Linked DNA regions of Homo sapiens: regions 2 and 3 are each linked to region 1. The links are contacts of gene promoters, found by promoter capture Hi-C in blood cells and fetal thymus (Javierre and others, 2016). All regions are on one chromosome and are shown on one strand. Each heading gives the region's core, a stretch centred on a gene start or on the middle of the fragment in contact. The rest is flanking DNA. Distances are from core to core; before and after follow the strand shown. Region 1 holds the start of PITX1 (paired like homeodomain 1). Region 2 has its middle 11 kb from the start of MACROH2A1. Region 3 overlaps MACROH2A1 (macroH2A.1 histone).

The links. Contacts are between HindIII fragments. The CHiCAGO score rates a contact against its expected background, and 5 or more counts as called.
Region 2: a contact is called between a fragment that was not itself captured here and the fragment with the promoter of PITX1 in region 1, in 1 of 17 cell types (endothelial precursors). The highest score is 5.9, in endothelial precursors.
Region 3: a fragment that was not itself captured here is called in contact with the fragment with the promoter of PITX1 in region 1 in 1 of 17 cell types (endothelial precursors); the score reaches 5.9 in endothelial precursors.

What each region holds. Positions count from the first base shown.
Region 1 is chr5:135,031,780-135,036,553 of GRCh38, reverse strand. It overlaps PITX1 (paired like homeodomain 1), which reads left to right and starts at 2,326. Exons shown (of 3, transcript NM_002653.5): 1 at 2,326-2,841. The coding sequence starts at 2,673. It overlaps PITX1-AS1 (PITX1 antisense RNA 1), which reads right to left and starts at 3,280. Exons shown (of 6, transcript NR_161235.1): 1 at 3,014-3,280. RefSeq lists an enhancer at 2,810-3,442 and a silencer at 4,613-4,774. The HindIII fragment of the contact is 7,456 bases long and covers 1-4,774 here.
Region 2 is chr5:135,408,252-135,413,025 of GRCh38, reverse strand. No RefSeq gene overlaps it. Among named protein-coding and RNA genes, the nearest start is that of MACROH2A1, 11 kb to the right of the region's middle. The HindIII fragment of the contact is 1,722 bases long and covers 1,105-2,826 here.
Region 3 is chr5:135,336,669-135,341,442 of GRCh38, reverse strand. The region is part of intron 8 of MACROH2A1 (macroH2A.1 histone); the gene reads left to right. PITX1-AS1 (PITX1 antisense RNA 1) reads right to left here. Exons shown (of 6, transcript NR_161235.1): 5 at 3,430-3,512. Among named protein-coding and RNA genes, the nearest start is that of MACROH2A1, 60 kb to the left of the region's middle. The HindIII fragment of the contact is 2,822 bases long and covers 1,046-3,867 here.

The sequences.
Region 1 (4,774 bases), core at 1,077-3,576:
CTAAGTCTCTACCCAGAGACGCACTGTGCTTCCCACCTTGGCCTGACATGTGGCAGGGTTAGAACACACCTCCTATCCCCTGCCAGCCCGCGTTCATGCCAAGTAGCACATATATGCCTAAACTCAGCACTTCCATAGTGCAGTGAATACATGTGTGTGTACAGCATCTCCGCATGGATGTACAGGATGTGTGTGTGTGTGCGTGCCCCCATGCTGTCTGCATTCAGGCTGTTCTTTTTGGTAAGACAGCTAAAAAAAGAATGGTCTGTGAAGGGACACTCCCTAGCACGCTGCAACACCTGAATATCTCCTTGAAAGGAGGGATCTTCTACTGCAGGAGACTCGTGGTAAAGGTGGCCAAGAAACATGGCAACGGTGGGGCTGAGGGCAAATGCTGGGCAACTGTGCTTCCCCATGTTCCCCTCCCCGTAGCCAAGACTCATTTCATGGAGGGAGATCTCAGCTTGGAAGAAGGCAGGAGTCACTGAGCCTCCCCAATCCAAACCCCTGAGAAGTGTCCTCCCTCTGGCCTCAGACCCTGCATCCTGTGGTCACAGACCCACAGTGAGAAAGGACCAGGCCCTAAGGAGCTGTGCTGTCTCTCCACGGCCCAGAGCGGGGGATGGGGATGGGGATGGGGATGGGGATGGGGATGGGGATGGGGGTAGGGGTGGGGGTGCTTTGGACTAACGTGGAGGGAATGGAAGGCAGGCCTGGTTCCACCCTGCATGCCCGACCCTGGCCCCAGCAGCCCCCACAAGGAGCTCAGCTGACCCTGGGTGTCTCCCTGTGATGGGAAGGGGTAAGACGAGGACTCAAAGGCAGAACCTGCAGAGTGCCCCAGACGCTGATACCTGCACAGTCAGTGCCACCCACCCAGGAGTTGAGGAGGCACTGGGTTTTGGGGTGAGGACACTGGACACCTCCCTGCTTCTTTCCCAGGCAGACAATCCTGGCGCAGCTCCCTTGGGTTGCTGTGTCTGGTGGAGCTGATCACAGGTGAGGGGCAGAGGGCAGTCTGGGGTCCGCCTATGGCCAGAGGAGCAGGTCAGGGCGGCGCCTTGCCGCCCCAGCTGTGGCCTGTTTGCTCAAGACGCTGAGGTCTCGGGGCCAGCTAACAATTGTTGAGCAAAATCCTTCGACAAACTTCACCTACGTGCAAGGACTCGAGGAGGGAATCACTCTTAGGAGTGGGAGAGTAATGTCTTTGCCTGTGCCCAGTGAAGGCCCATTGGAGCTGCAGCTCAGCTACCACTGTGTGGGAGAGAAGCTGGAAGACTGAGGGCTTCCTGGGCTGCTGGCCCAGGGTTGGGAGACAGCAGTCACCTGGCTTACCAGGCCTATGCCTGAAGCCCTGGGAAGCCAGGACGCAGGCCCCAGGCTGGGACAAAGCTACCCTGAAGGAGGGCAAAGGCTGCCAAGGCCAACCCCATGCCTGCCAAGGCCAGGCCTGGCCCATTTGGCCAAGGCCTAAGGTGTAAAACAAGGGGAGAGGTACAAGAGGCTGTGGGGTCTGGCTGGGATCCTTGGGGTCTTCCTTCTGCATTCTCCAAACGCCTAGAGCCAGCAGAAACGTTTCGTCTGATTAGAAGCCATCATTTCTATCCCAATCCCGGAAAATTGACTGCGGTGCAGAGAGGGAGGCCTGAGAAGCAGCCGTAGGGGAGAAGGTCCAAGCTAATTAGGAGGCAGCATCCGGGGGCCCATTAGAGCGCAGGCTGCTGTCACTCAGCCGGGCTGAGTTCCCGGGAGAAGAGGCTGGAGAAGGAGGGGCAGGCGGCCCCTCGACGAGGACACCGCTGGGAGCTGCCGGAACGGGCCCCGGGCTCTGCCCCCGCCCCGGCGCTGGCTCGAAGGCGCCCGCTCGGTGCGATCCTGTTCGGCAAACATTCACTCATCCTGGGCTGTTCTCGCCAGGGCTGGGGACTTCGAGGCGGCCGAGACGGGAGTTGATTCTAGGCGAAACAAGTCATTTGAGGCCTGAGGTGTGCACGAGCCGCCCGGGACTCGCAGGCCAGATGCGTTTCTTTTGTGAGGCCGAGGGAGAACTCGGTGTGTCACCGGGGAAGGAGGGAGAGGCGCGGCGAGGCCGCGGGGGGCGGGGAGGCGGCGGGAAGGTGGCTGCGGAGGGGGAGGGCGCGGGCGAGGCAGGGAGGGAGGGAGGGCGGCAGTGAGGGCGCGGCGGCGCGGGCGGCTTGGGGCTGGATTCCGCCCGCGCTCCCTCGCTCGCTCGCTCCCTCCCCAGCCCCCTCCCACCCAGGCCCACCCCACCCAGCACCCCTGGCGCAGGGACTGCTGGAACCTGGCTGTGCGCGCTGTCGCTTTAAGACAGACTCTGCCGGCGCCGTCCGGAGCCTTAGAAACCGGCCCCGGATCGCGAGCCGGAGCCGGAGCCGGAGCCGGGGCCGGCCGGGCTGCTGAGGCCCGAGCGGCAGGAGCGCAGCGCGGAGCGCTGAGCCAGGCGCCCAGTCGCGAGAAGCTGCCGCCGCCTCTGCCCGCCCGGCGCCGCAGCCCCGGGCGGTCCATGGGGCGGGCACGGCGTCGCTGCAGGCGCCGGCAGCCCTGGAGGGCAGCCGCTTAGGCGCTGCGCTCTTGTCCCCGCAGGTCGCAGCCAGGGCGGCGGGGCGCGCCCAGCCCCGGCCCCTGGAGCGCCCGCCGCGGTCCCCACCTCCATGGACGCCTTCAAGGGGGGCATGAGCCTGGAGCGGCTGCCGGAGGGGCTCCGGCCGCCGCCGCCGCCACCCCATGACATGGGGCCCGCCTTCCACCTGGCCCGGCCCGCCGACCCCCGCGAGCCGCTCGAGAACTCCGCCAGCGAGTCGTCTGACACGGAGCTGCCAGGTAAGCGCCGTTCCCCGCGCGGCGCGCACAGAGCCTACCCGGGCGCGGAGCACGGGGAGCTGGGAGCAGGGCCTGACGCCCGCGCCGCGCAACCAAGCTCCCTCTCCGCCCCAGAAGCGTCAGGAGCTTTCTTTTTCCCGTTCTCGACCTGACGGTGAACGCGGAAACTTACGCACACGCGAAGGCACTTCCACGCGGTCCCCACGCGCCAAGAGACTGGCAGATGCACGAGCCTACAGCTGGAGGGTTGGACTGACAGCCCCTCTTGATCAGGAGTAAATAGAACGGGAAAGAATTTGATTTGCGCAACTGGGCGCTAAGGAGCGGCTCGGACGAAGGGAGAGGAGGAGACCGAGAAAGGAAGAGGGGTGACGGGCGAGAGAACGCACTCAGAGAGACAGAGAGGGAGGTTAACACCGTGACAGTAGGCGACAGAATGAAAGAGACCAAAGAGAAGGGGCGGGCGGGAAGGGTAAACGGGGGGAGAGGGGTCATCAAGTAGAAGGGAGACACAGAGGACGGTGAGGGCGAGCGGGCCAACAGGCGCGGCCGGACTCCCAGCAAGGCCAGCCGGAACGCCGATCAAGGGATCCGGCCCACGTGCGCGGCCGAAGCCCGGAGCAGCCCGGCTCTGGCCCCCGCCCCGGCTCCTGCGCGTCTCCCTCCGCGCTGCCTTTTTTTGTCCGAGCTGGAGCTTTTTTCCAGCAGCGAACTGGGCCCGCGGGTGGCCGGCGCGGGCAGTGGGGCAGCGAATCCGCTGCCCAGCGCAGCCGGCCGGGTTCCGGAGGGGCTCCGAGCTCCCCGGTGTGGGCGCCTCTTCTGCGTTCATTTCTTAATACACAGCTGAATGTTTCTCTCCACTTTCTTAGTATCTGTTTCTCTTTTGCATCCCTAAGTGATTTTTCTGAGAGGTTGTTTGCTTGGTTAAAACATAATCAACGCTGAACTCTACTTTTGTTTTCAAAAGTTTTAAGCGCGGTCTTTGGTTGGTTTTATTTTTAAAACCTAGAGAGATATATAATCGTATATTGATTTTTTTGAACCAAATCTATGAGGATGAATTAATTTTAACTGTATCTTTCGATTCTGAAAGAATTAACGTACGAAGTGTAGGTCTGGAATTTAAAATATCTACATGCAACATTATTCTTCCGGAGATTTTAAAAAGTCAATCCAAAATGGCGCGTTTCTCCGGAATTTTCTCAAAATCCATTTACAGTGGTGTTATTTGGGGAATTTAAATTATCTAACTATAATGTGTTTCTCTGGGATTTAAAAATTATCTCTACAAGGGCCTTATTGGGAAGGAGTTAAAAATCTATCTACAACGGTACATTATTTTTTTAAATCCCAGAGAAATAAATGCTTCTGTCAACCTGGAGTTTATACACTTACAGCTCTGTATTTAGTTAGGGGTGTGTTTGTACGGAGCTTTCTGGCTTCTTAATTTACATTTGCTCTGTGTTTCTTCCTGTCTGATTTTGAGAATTTGTGGCCCTTTCAGTGTCTTTAGGCATAGAGCTGTGAGCTTTTCTGGGCTTCTGTGTTTTGTTTTTAAACTCTTTTTCTTTATGTATTAATGTTTCTATGACTGCGTGTGTTTTGTGTAGCTTCAAAGAGAGACAGACTAAAGCCCGAGGTCACCTAGACAGAGTCTGTCTGTCTGGGCTGCAGTTGGTGGGGTTTTCTAGGCTTTGGGACTGGAGGCCTGGAAGCAAGGCCGAGAACCCGGCTGTGTTGTGCCTGCCCAGTGGGGCTCCCATACACCCCTGAGGAGAAGAAAGTGGAGGGACTTTAGGCTGGAGAGATCTGATCCTAGTTCAGAAAAGCAGAGACCCCCTCAGATTTAGACCCCCTAAGAGTTCGCAAAACAAACAAACAAAAAGCATACATTTGCTGGGAACATCAGCAGCAGGGTCAGAATCTGAGCCGA
Region 2 (4,774 bases), core at 716-3,215, 380 kb before region 1:
AATCCCAGCTACTCGGGAGGCTGAGGCAGGAGAATCACTTGAACCTGGAAGGCGAAGGTTGCAGTGAGCTGAGATCGTGCCATTGCACTCCAGTCTGGGCAACAAGAGTGAAACTCTGTCTCTAAATAAATAAATAACAAATAAAACAGGTGGGTCAATTAAAAATCAAATGGTAAGATGGCGATATTAATCCAACTGCAACAGACAAACTTTAAATATGAGGACACAAAAAGTTTTAAAACAAATGACTGAAAAAATAGACCATACAAACCCTAAAAGAAAGCTGATATAGCAATGCCGACATCAGACCAAATCAATTTCAAGAAACGTTATCAAAACAAAAAAGGAAAATTTCATAATGATAAGAAGATCAATTCACTAGGAGTATGCCACACACATATATTACATATAGCAGTATATAATTAATAATATGATTTCAGTATATATAAAACCAAAACTGACAGAACCCAGTATATAATTAATAATATGATTTCAGTATATATAAAACCAAAACTGACAGAACCCAGTGTAAAATACGGTTTCAATATATATTAAAGCAAAACTGACAGAACCCAAAGAGAAATAGACAAGCCTACAGTCACAATGGAAGACTTTAACACACTATTCTCAAAACCTGATAGAATAACTAGACCAAAAAAGTCAGTATGGACATTCAAAGTTTGAAAAACACAATTTAAAAAAGCTAGAGCTAATTGACATATATAAATCATTGCAGCCAACAATGATAGAATTTACATTATTTTCAAGTGCACATAAAATTTGTGACAAAATAGGTCCATGAGTTGAAGCAAAAAGAGGCTCAACAATATTCCAGTGTTTACAAGCATCCATAGTATAATCTCTGAGTACAACTAAATTAAGCTAGAAGTAAATAGCAAAATCCACAGGTCTAAAAATCAAACATGTACTTCAAAAATAATATATAGTTTAAAGAAGAAATTACAGCTGAACGAGAAAATATTATGAACTTAATAATAATGAAGATGCTATGTATCAAAACTTATAGAATACAACAAAATCAGATAAAAATTTATAATTCTAACTACATATATTAGAAAGTAAAAAAGATCAATTACCTAAGCTTGTATCTTAATAAGATGTAAAAAGAACAGTGTGTTAAATCCAATGAAAGTAGAAAGAAGGAAAGAGGAGCTGAAATTTAATTAAGTAGAAAAACTTTAATAGAGAAATTAAATAAAGCCAAAAGTAGGTTCTTTGAAAAACTGATAAACCCTTAGAAATATCAATTGAGACAAAAGAGAGAAATCCCAGGTTATCAGTACCAGTAACAACAAGGAAGACAGCACTACAAATGCTGTATTAAAAGGGTAAGAGAGTATCTGAACAATTTTACTTCAAGCCAGAGAGCCCTCAACAGAAATTGAATAAGCCGACATCTTGATCTTGCATTTCCCAGTCTCCAGAAGTGTGAGAAATAAATTTCTGTTGTTTAAGCCACCTAGTTTATGTTTTGTTATGATGGTCCAGGCAAACTAAGACAAGTAGAGAGTCCAGAAACAAATCCACTGTCACTTGATCAATGACACTACGGTGCAACGGGGAAAGTATAATTATTCATTAACTGGTGCTGGAAAAATTAGATAAAATGATATCTTATATCATATTTTTGTATTCCAGATGGATTGCAAAGTGTGAAAGATACGTTTTTCTGCTTTCTTTTTAGAAGTGTTTTTATTTTTTAATTGAGCTATAACTTATATACAGTAAAGTACACAAGTCTTAAAAAATTGATGACAGTTTTCATATACCCAACAAGATCCTTCATGATCCCTTCCAGTTACACCCAAAAAAATCACTATTATGACTGTCAAAATAAGTAAGTTTTGCCTATTTTTTTCACTGAGATCTAGAGGGTCTCTGTTCTCTTACCCTTGAAAGACTGTGGGAAATTCATTTCAGCTCTTTGAAAGTGTTGAGTTTAATTTTGTATCCTCATGCTCCATACAACTGCAAAATCTGACAAATGTCGTGAAGCCTTTTTAGACTGGGTGGGTTTTTGAGACAGGATCTCTTCCTCTAGCAGGACTTTGTCTCTTGAGCACCAAACTACAGGAAATTGTATTTTGCCTGTTAGAAACACTCTGCCGGACTTCTCAGCCTCCTACACACAAGCCTCAGAACTTATCAAGTGTTCTATGGGAAATGCAAACATGTCTGGGGGCTCTGCAAGTCTCCAATCTGTCATATGAATCCTGTGCAGCCACCAAAAGCCTTGCTGGGTTCTATTCCTTCCATACAGTCTCTCTGCATGAGTTAGATCCAAACTTCAGTCTGAGCCTATAATCGGAAAAGGCCCCTAGGGAAGGAAGCTGCTAGTAATCATCAGTTCACCCCCTCTGCAATTTAAATTCATATTGTACTTGTTGCTTCCAGAGCCCTTTGATGCCTTTTTTTAAAGTACACAACTTTTTACACAGTAAAAATGTCACAGTGAAATGTTGTCACAGTAAGAATGTTGGGTTGCCATGACCTACTCATCTTACTCAAAGGTTGATGACTGATAGAGGGTAGGCAAAGATTTCTTAAACAGCACACAAAATGTGTTAATCATAAAAAAAACCTAATAAATTGGATGGACTACATTAAATCTAGAAATTTCTATTTATCAAAAAACAATTAACTGATAAAAGAACCAAAGAATGCCTAAATAAATGGGGAGATATACTGTGTCCATGGATCAGAAGACCCAACATAGTAAAGATGTCCATTTCTCCAAAACTGATCTATAGGTTTAATGAAATTTCTATCAAAATCCCAAGGGTTTTTTGCAGATATAGACAAGCTTATTTTAATATATAGAAACTCATAGGTTCTAAAATAGCTAAGACAATCTTGACAAAAAAAGAACAAAGCAGAAGTAACCACTCTCCTGGTATTAAGGCCTAATACATAGCTCCAGTAATGAAGACATGGACTGATATTGGCAGAGGGACAGACACATGGGCCATTGGAACAGAATAGAGAACTCAGAAATAGACCCACAGCAATATGCCTAACTCATTTTTTTTTTAATTGATCATTCTTGGGTGTTTCTCGCAGAGGGGGATTTGGCAGGGTCATAGGACAATAGTGGAGGGAAGGTCAGCAGATAAACAAGTGAACAAAGGTCTCTGGTTTTCCTAGGCAGAGGACCCTGCGGCCTTCCGCAGTGTTTGTGTCCCTGGGTACTTGAGATTAGGGAGTGGTGATGACTCTCAACGAGCATGCTGCCTTCAAGCATCTGTTTAACAAAGCACATCCTGCACTGCCCTTAATCCATTTAACCCTGAGCGGACACAGCACATGTTTCAGAGAGCACAGGGTTGGGGGTAAGGTCATAGATAACAGCATCCCAAGGCAGAAGAATTTTTCTTAATACAGAACAAAATGGAGTCTCCTATGTCTACTTCTTTCTACACAGACACAGCAACAATCTGATTTCTCTATCTTTTCCCCACATTTCCCCCTTTTCTATTCGACAAAACTGCCATCGTCATCATGGCCCGTTCTCAATGAGCTGTTGGGTACACCTCCCAGACGGGGTGGCGGCCGGGCAGAGGGGCTCCTCACTTCCCAGAAGGGGCGGCCGGGCAGAGGCGCCCCCCACCTCCCTCCCGGACGGGGCGGCTGGCCGGGCGGGGGCTGCCCACCGCCTCCCTCCTGGACGGGGCAGCTGCCGGGTGGAGACGCTCCTCACTTCCTACACGGGGCGGCTGCCGGGCGGAGGGGCTCCTCACTTCTCAGACGGGGCGGCCGGGCAGAGGCGCTCCTCACATCCCAGACGGGGCGGCGGGGCAGAGGCGCTCCCCACATCTCAGACGATGGGCGGCCGGGCAGAGATGCTCCTCACTTCCTAGATGGGAAGGCGGCCGGGAAGAGGTGCTCCTCACTTCCTAGATGGGATGGCGGCCGGGCACTTTCCAGACTGGGTAGCCAGGCAGAGGGGCTCCTCACGTCCAAGACGATGGGCGGCCAGGCAGAGACGCTCCTCACTTCCCAGACGGGGTGGCGGCCGGGCAGAGGCTGCAATCTCTGCACTTTGGGAGGCCAAGGTAGGCTGCTGGGAGGTGGAGGTTGTAGCGAGCCGAGATCACGCCACTGCACTCCAGCCTGGGCAACATTGAGCACTGAGTGAACGAGACTCCGTCCGCAATACCGGCACCTCGGGAGGCCGTGGCTGGCAGATCACTCGCGGTTAGGAGCTGGAGACCAGCCCGGCCAACACAGCGAAACCCCGTCTCCACCAAAAAAATACGAAAACCAGTCAGGTGTGGCGGCGCGCGCCTGCAATCGCAGGCACTCGGCAGGCTGAGGCAGGAGAATCAGGCAGGGAGGTTGCAGTGAGCGGAGATGGCAGCAGTACAGTCCAGCTTCGGCTCGGCATCAGAGGGAGACCGTGGAAAGAGAGGGAGAGGGAGACCGTGGGGAGAGGGAGAGGCAGAGGCAGAGGCAGACCGTGGGGAGAGGGAGAGGCAGAGGCAGGGAGAGGGAGAGGGAGAGGGAGAGGGACGCCTAACTCATTTTTGACAAAGGTGCAAAACCAATGCAATGGAGGAAGGACAGCCTTTTTTGCAAACGGTACTCAAGCAAATAGACATACACAGGAGAAAATAAAATAGGAAAGAAAAAATCTTGCTCTAAGCCTCGTACTTTATACAGAAAGTAATTTAAAATGGATTCTGAACTTAAATGTAAAACGTATGGCCGAGCGTAGTGGCTTACACCTATAATCCAAGCACTTTAGGATGTCGAG
Region 3 (4,774 bases), core at 1,207-3,706, 300 kb before region 1:
ACCCCCACTTCTCCCAGTCAAGGGCAAAACAGCAGAATGAGCATTTCCCCAGCAACCCCTCACCAGTTGTTGAGCTATGGGCAGGCTTGCCTCCCCCTTCCCTGGCCTCACATCTCTGGGCTGTCTGGTCCTGGGGTTCTGTGAGTGAGGCCCCTCAGCTCTCCTATCCTGTGTGACCTTTGGTTAAATGAATCAGCCTCTCTGCCCTGGTCTGCCTTATCAGCAAGTGAGGCTATAGGGACTGCCCATCCTCACAAATGGTTCTGAGGCTCAGTTAATTAGTGCTTTCAATGCACTTTGATCTGCTCTGATGAAAGGTGCTTCCGCAGAGGGAGGCAATAGGAAACTTTATTGGAGGTAATAATTTCACAACCTTTCATATGGGTATTGGGAAATTTTTAATTGAAGCATAAAAGTAATTCTCATAAAAGAGCATCTGTTATTACAAACTTATTTACATTTTTCATGGAGTAAAAAGTAGGAATAAAAATAATCAATTGAAAGCTTGAAGAGGGGGAAATGCCTAAGGCAGCACATGTGTACAGCTACCCAGGCCACATCTGCCAGGCAGACCTCACCCCATAGAGCTGTGTAAACAGCTGCCCTCTCTTTCATGAGTAAAAAAAAATGGGATTACACCAGAGCCGGCCAGTAAATCACAGTGGGTTTTAGGAGGGGAAATAAAACAGCTTGTTTGTTGCATCCAGTGTCTCTGGCACGGAAGTAATGTTGGAATTAAAACAGTATAAAGGTAAGCATGTTGGGAAAGAGCCATTGGTAAAGGATCACTCTCTTAGCTGAGGCCCAGTGGCACAGCCTACATGGATGGAAGATGACCATAACCACACCTGTGTGATGGCTCCCTCCAGCCTGTGAGGCCCTGGCATCTGGACATCCTGTCCTCAGCCATTCTGGTCACGATATTTATGGATACCCCCACTCCCTCAGCTCTGTTTCACATTAGGGGTGACCCCTCTCCAGAGGGGTAGTACATAGGGAATACTAGTTTGGGGCTTTGATTAAACTTTCCTTAGATTTATAAGCTTAAAAGGAAAAGCTGGTTTATTTTTTTCAAGCTACTATTTATGGGTATGTGTTGAGCCCCAGGCGCGGTGCTAAACCCTTTATCTGCATTATCTCACAGCAACCCTACAAGGTGAACAGCATTATTCCTTTCAAGGGCAAAGAAACTGAAGCATAGAGGGGTTAAGTAAATCATCTGAGGTCACTCAACTTGTACTTGGTAGAGTGAGAATTTGATCAGAAGCCCTTCGCTTCAGAGCTGTTAGGCTCATGGAACCCCTGCCTCCCATCTCCATTGGTCAGCCAGACCCCAGGTCCCACCACCTCATCCCACCATAGGACTGCCCCCTGCCTGCGTACTCTCTGTGCATAAAACACTACCTGGGAACTCCCTGACCTGCCCAAGTATAGCCATCAGCCTCTTTCCCCTCCTAAGCATTGGCCTCAGAGGTGAGATAAAAGGACAGAAACTCAAGAGACCTTTGAATGGGGGAGAATTTTTCATTTACCCAAAGCCCGGGGGCCTGGAGTGGGAGGCCACTTTGGGGCTGCCCCATCCCCTCTCTAGCTGCAGGGGGCACAGCTCAGGGGAGTGGTGGCCCCATCACCATCGCTTCTGAATGTTCTCCCTCCTGTATACCATTGCTCTCGGCTCAGGATCCTGATGACTTGGATCAAAGTGGCCTGTGGCTGGGGCAACTTCAACCTGGCAATTACTAAAAAATGGTAAAGGCCTAAGAGCAGCCCACAGCACAGTGCGAGGGGGACCTAATCTTAGCAGAAGAATGTCTATACCCTAAGTGACAGACAAAGAATACCAGAATCCACCTCTACTCCTCCCCAGCCGTCAATTGCAAGCTCGCAATCTGTCTGCTCCAGAAAAATCTCCCTGGACTCCCAGGATACAGCCTCTCCTGCTGTGACTCTCTGAGGTCCCTAATGAGCTCCTAGCCTGGATTTGCTGCATACCTGCCTGGCCCCAGCCCTGGAAGGTGAGCTCACTGAGAGCAGGGGTGCTTAGTGAAGTCCCACTCAAGGAGAGGGCTGAGAAGAGCTGGGATGTGGTCCTTGGTGCACCTAGAGTCCCTGCGTGTCCAGACAGGACCGTGGGACAAGCATCCAATGCGTACACCCCCCAGCCATTACTGAGGAGGCTGACCCAAGAGGGCATCTTGCACTGGCCCTGGGAAACTGAGGTCCAGGACTCTTGGGAAAGGCAAAGGGCATTACAGACACAACTGGAGTGAATTTAGGGAAAGCTCAGATGTCTCTTTAGTCTGCTTAAGGTCCTAGCCCTATGGTGTAGGAAACTCTTGACTCCAGAGGAACTTAAGGAACATGCCATAAACACAACCCACAGGCCAGGTCAGGGGCTGAAGAGAGAGTGGAAACAACAAACAGTGCACGCATCTCCCAGGTGGGGCTGATGGTGGCCGCAGTACTGGCAGCCTCATCATCACCACCATTGTCATCACTGCACAGACCCCTGAAACACCTAATTTCTAGTGGAGGAAATTAATGCTTAGAGAGGTTAACACCCTGGCCCAAAGCAGCTGGGATTCAAACCCAATTCTGACTCTAGAGTGGAAGCCCTTAGTCCCTCTTGCTCTGCAACATCTGATCTGAAAGATAGGCAGCACAGCTGTAGGACAGAGTGGCTGGCACAGAGGCCAGGCCAGGCAGGAATGGCTATTCAGAGGGGCCGTGGTTATGCAAGTAGCAAGTGAACCCAGCTGAGAAGCCAAAGATGCAACACCAGTGGGCATGACTGCTCCTGAAAGCAGTCAGTACTGCACTGGGGAGCCTCTATGTAGCCCCTGCTGCTGCATGCCCACGGTCACGGCCAGCAGCTCTCTGGGGTCTGAGGCCAACATTGTTAGCACCGTGTAACTGCAACGACAACAGCAGTTACCCAGTCACAGCTATCCCAGGGACGAGGGTGGAAGGGGCAGTTTTCTACTGCATGAGCCTTTTAAAAGACCCTTCAAAGCCACCTACTTTATAGACAGCTCCTCTTAACTGAAGACTCTCTGTGCCATGCCCCGGTGCTTTGCATTTTCTTGTCCCAGACTCTGATTCCATTTCACAGGATGGGGAAACAAGGCACCGAAGTGGGACCACAACTCAAATCCTGTGTGACTCCGGGAAATCCTGAGCTCTTAACCACTCTGCTTCTCTACCCTGGAGGGAGTAGGGCTGTCAGGCCACCCAAGCCTCAGAGGCAGACCTGGGTCTGACCTGCCTCAGCTGCTGCATGTGCCACCGCTGCCTCTGTCTGGAGGCTGCAGGGCTGTGTGTGGAGTGCTCTTGCAGGGCATCCACCTACACATTCCATTTTGCTACAAGCATTCTAACTGGCAGCAAGACATTTTGAGGCCCACCAGAAAACGTTAGGAAAGCCGTTACCTCCGCCATTCCTTCCTGGCAGCCTGCGCAGTCCAGAGCAGCCACAGTCCCATAGCAGGGTTTCTTCCTTAGGCTGTAGCTTCCTAGGACAGAGGGATGGATTTGTCAACAAAGGGTTGTCCTGGAAACAAATCCAGATTCATGTTCACCCACCAACAACCCTGAAATGCTTGCAAGGCCAGGGACATTCCGGTGGAACCGTCTGCTCTCTATTAACGGGACGGTAGGCAGGTGTGGGCACTGCAAGTCTAAAACATTTGATACTGACCTCTCTCCCCCACTTGCAGATCCTCAACATCTGGGTCCACCCTGCCAGCTTGGATTATAAAGTCCATGCTGGCTATTTGTAGAACAGCAGTTCTCAAAAGCTGCTAGACCTGCTGAATCAAACTGTTGTGTTTTGACAAGCTCTCCAGAATTCTGATGCAGGCTAAAGCTTGAGAACTATTGATGTAGAGGAATAGAAAAGAATATTTCCTCACTGAAAGTCACATACTCTTTTGTAAGGGTCCAAGGCAGAGGCAAGGAAAGCCTCAGGAGGGGTCTGTGTCAGAAAGCACTGGTCACAGGCAGGAGTGACTGGCACACTTTTGGTGTGTTCCAGGGAGACCCCTTGGGACCTCCCAGTCAGCATGGCATGGCATGGGCATGGGCCAGGCTACACTGTGTCTGCATCATACCACATCTCACCCAGCTTGTGTGGGATGTAGCTAACCGTTGTTGGAGACAGCTGCCTGGGCATGCAGCCCGGCTGCAGCTACAGAAGCCCTGCCCCAGGGCTAGCTCAGCTAGGCAGAACATCGGGCCACCTGACAACTGCTGTTTGCAGTAGCTCCACAGGCCCTCAGCCCAGCCCAGCTCCCTGTGCACGTGTGAGGCTGAGACAGGCAAGAGGGCACCTCACTGTAGGGACCTTGGAGCTGGCAGAGCATGGTCTTGGGATTCACATGCAAAATGCAACTTCTCACAGCTCCTCTCAGCACCCTGCAGCCCCCGTTGATCCAGGTCACATCCACAGACTGGGCTCTGCCTGCTCCAGAAGCCCTTGGCCCCTAAGTACAGGCTGCAACAGGACCGAGGATCCCAGCCCACAGTTAGAAGCAGCCTGAGCTGCTGGAAAGATGCCCCCCAAAAATGGAAGATTGAGTTTTTATCTCCTCAAGCAATTCTCAACGTGGCTCATTCCAGATAACCTGTCCTCTGTGCTCCTTGACTCCTGTGAATATAGTCAGGGCAGCTCTGCCTGGTGTGGGCCAAGATTTCAGATCTGCAAACAGCACTGGTGCCAGAGGAATGACCTGCCCACTCTCAGCAGAGCCCTTTTCTTTCACTATACATGCCGCCC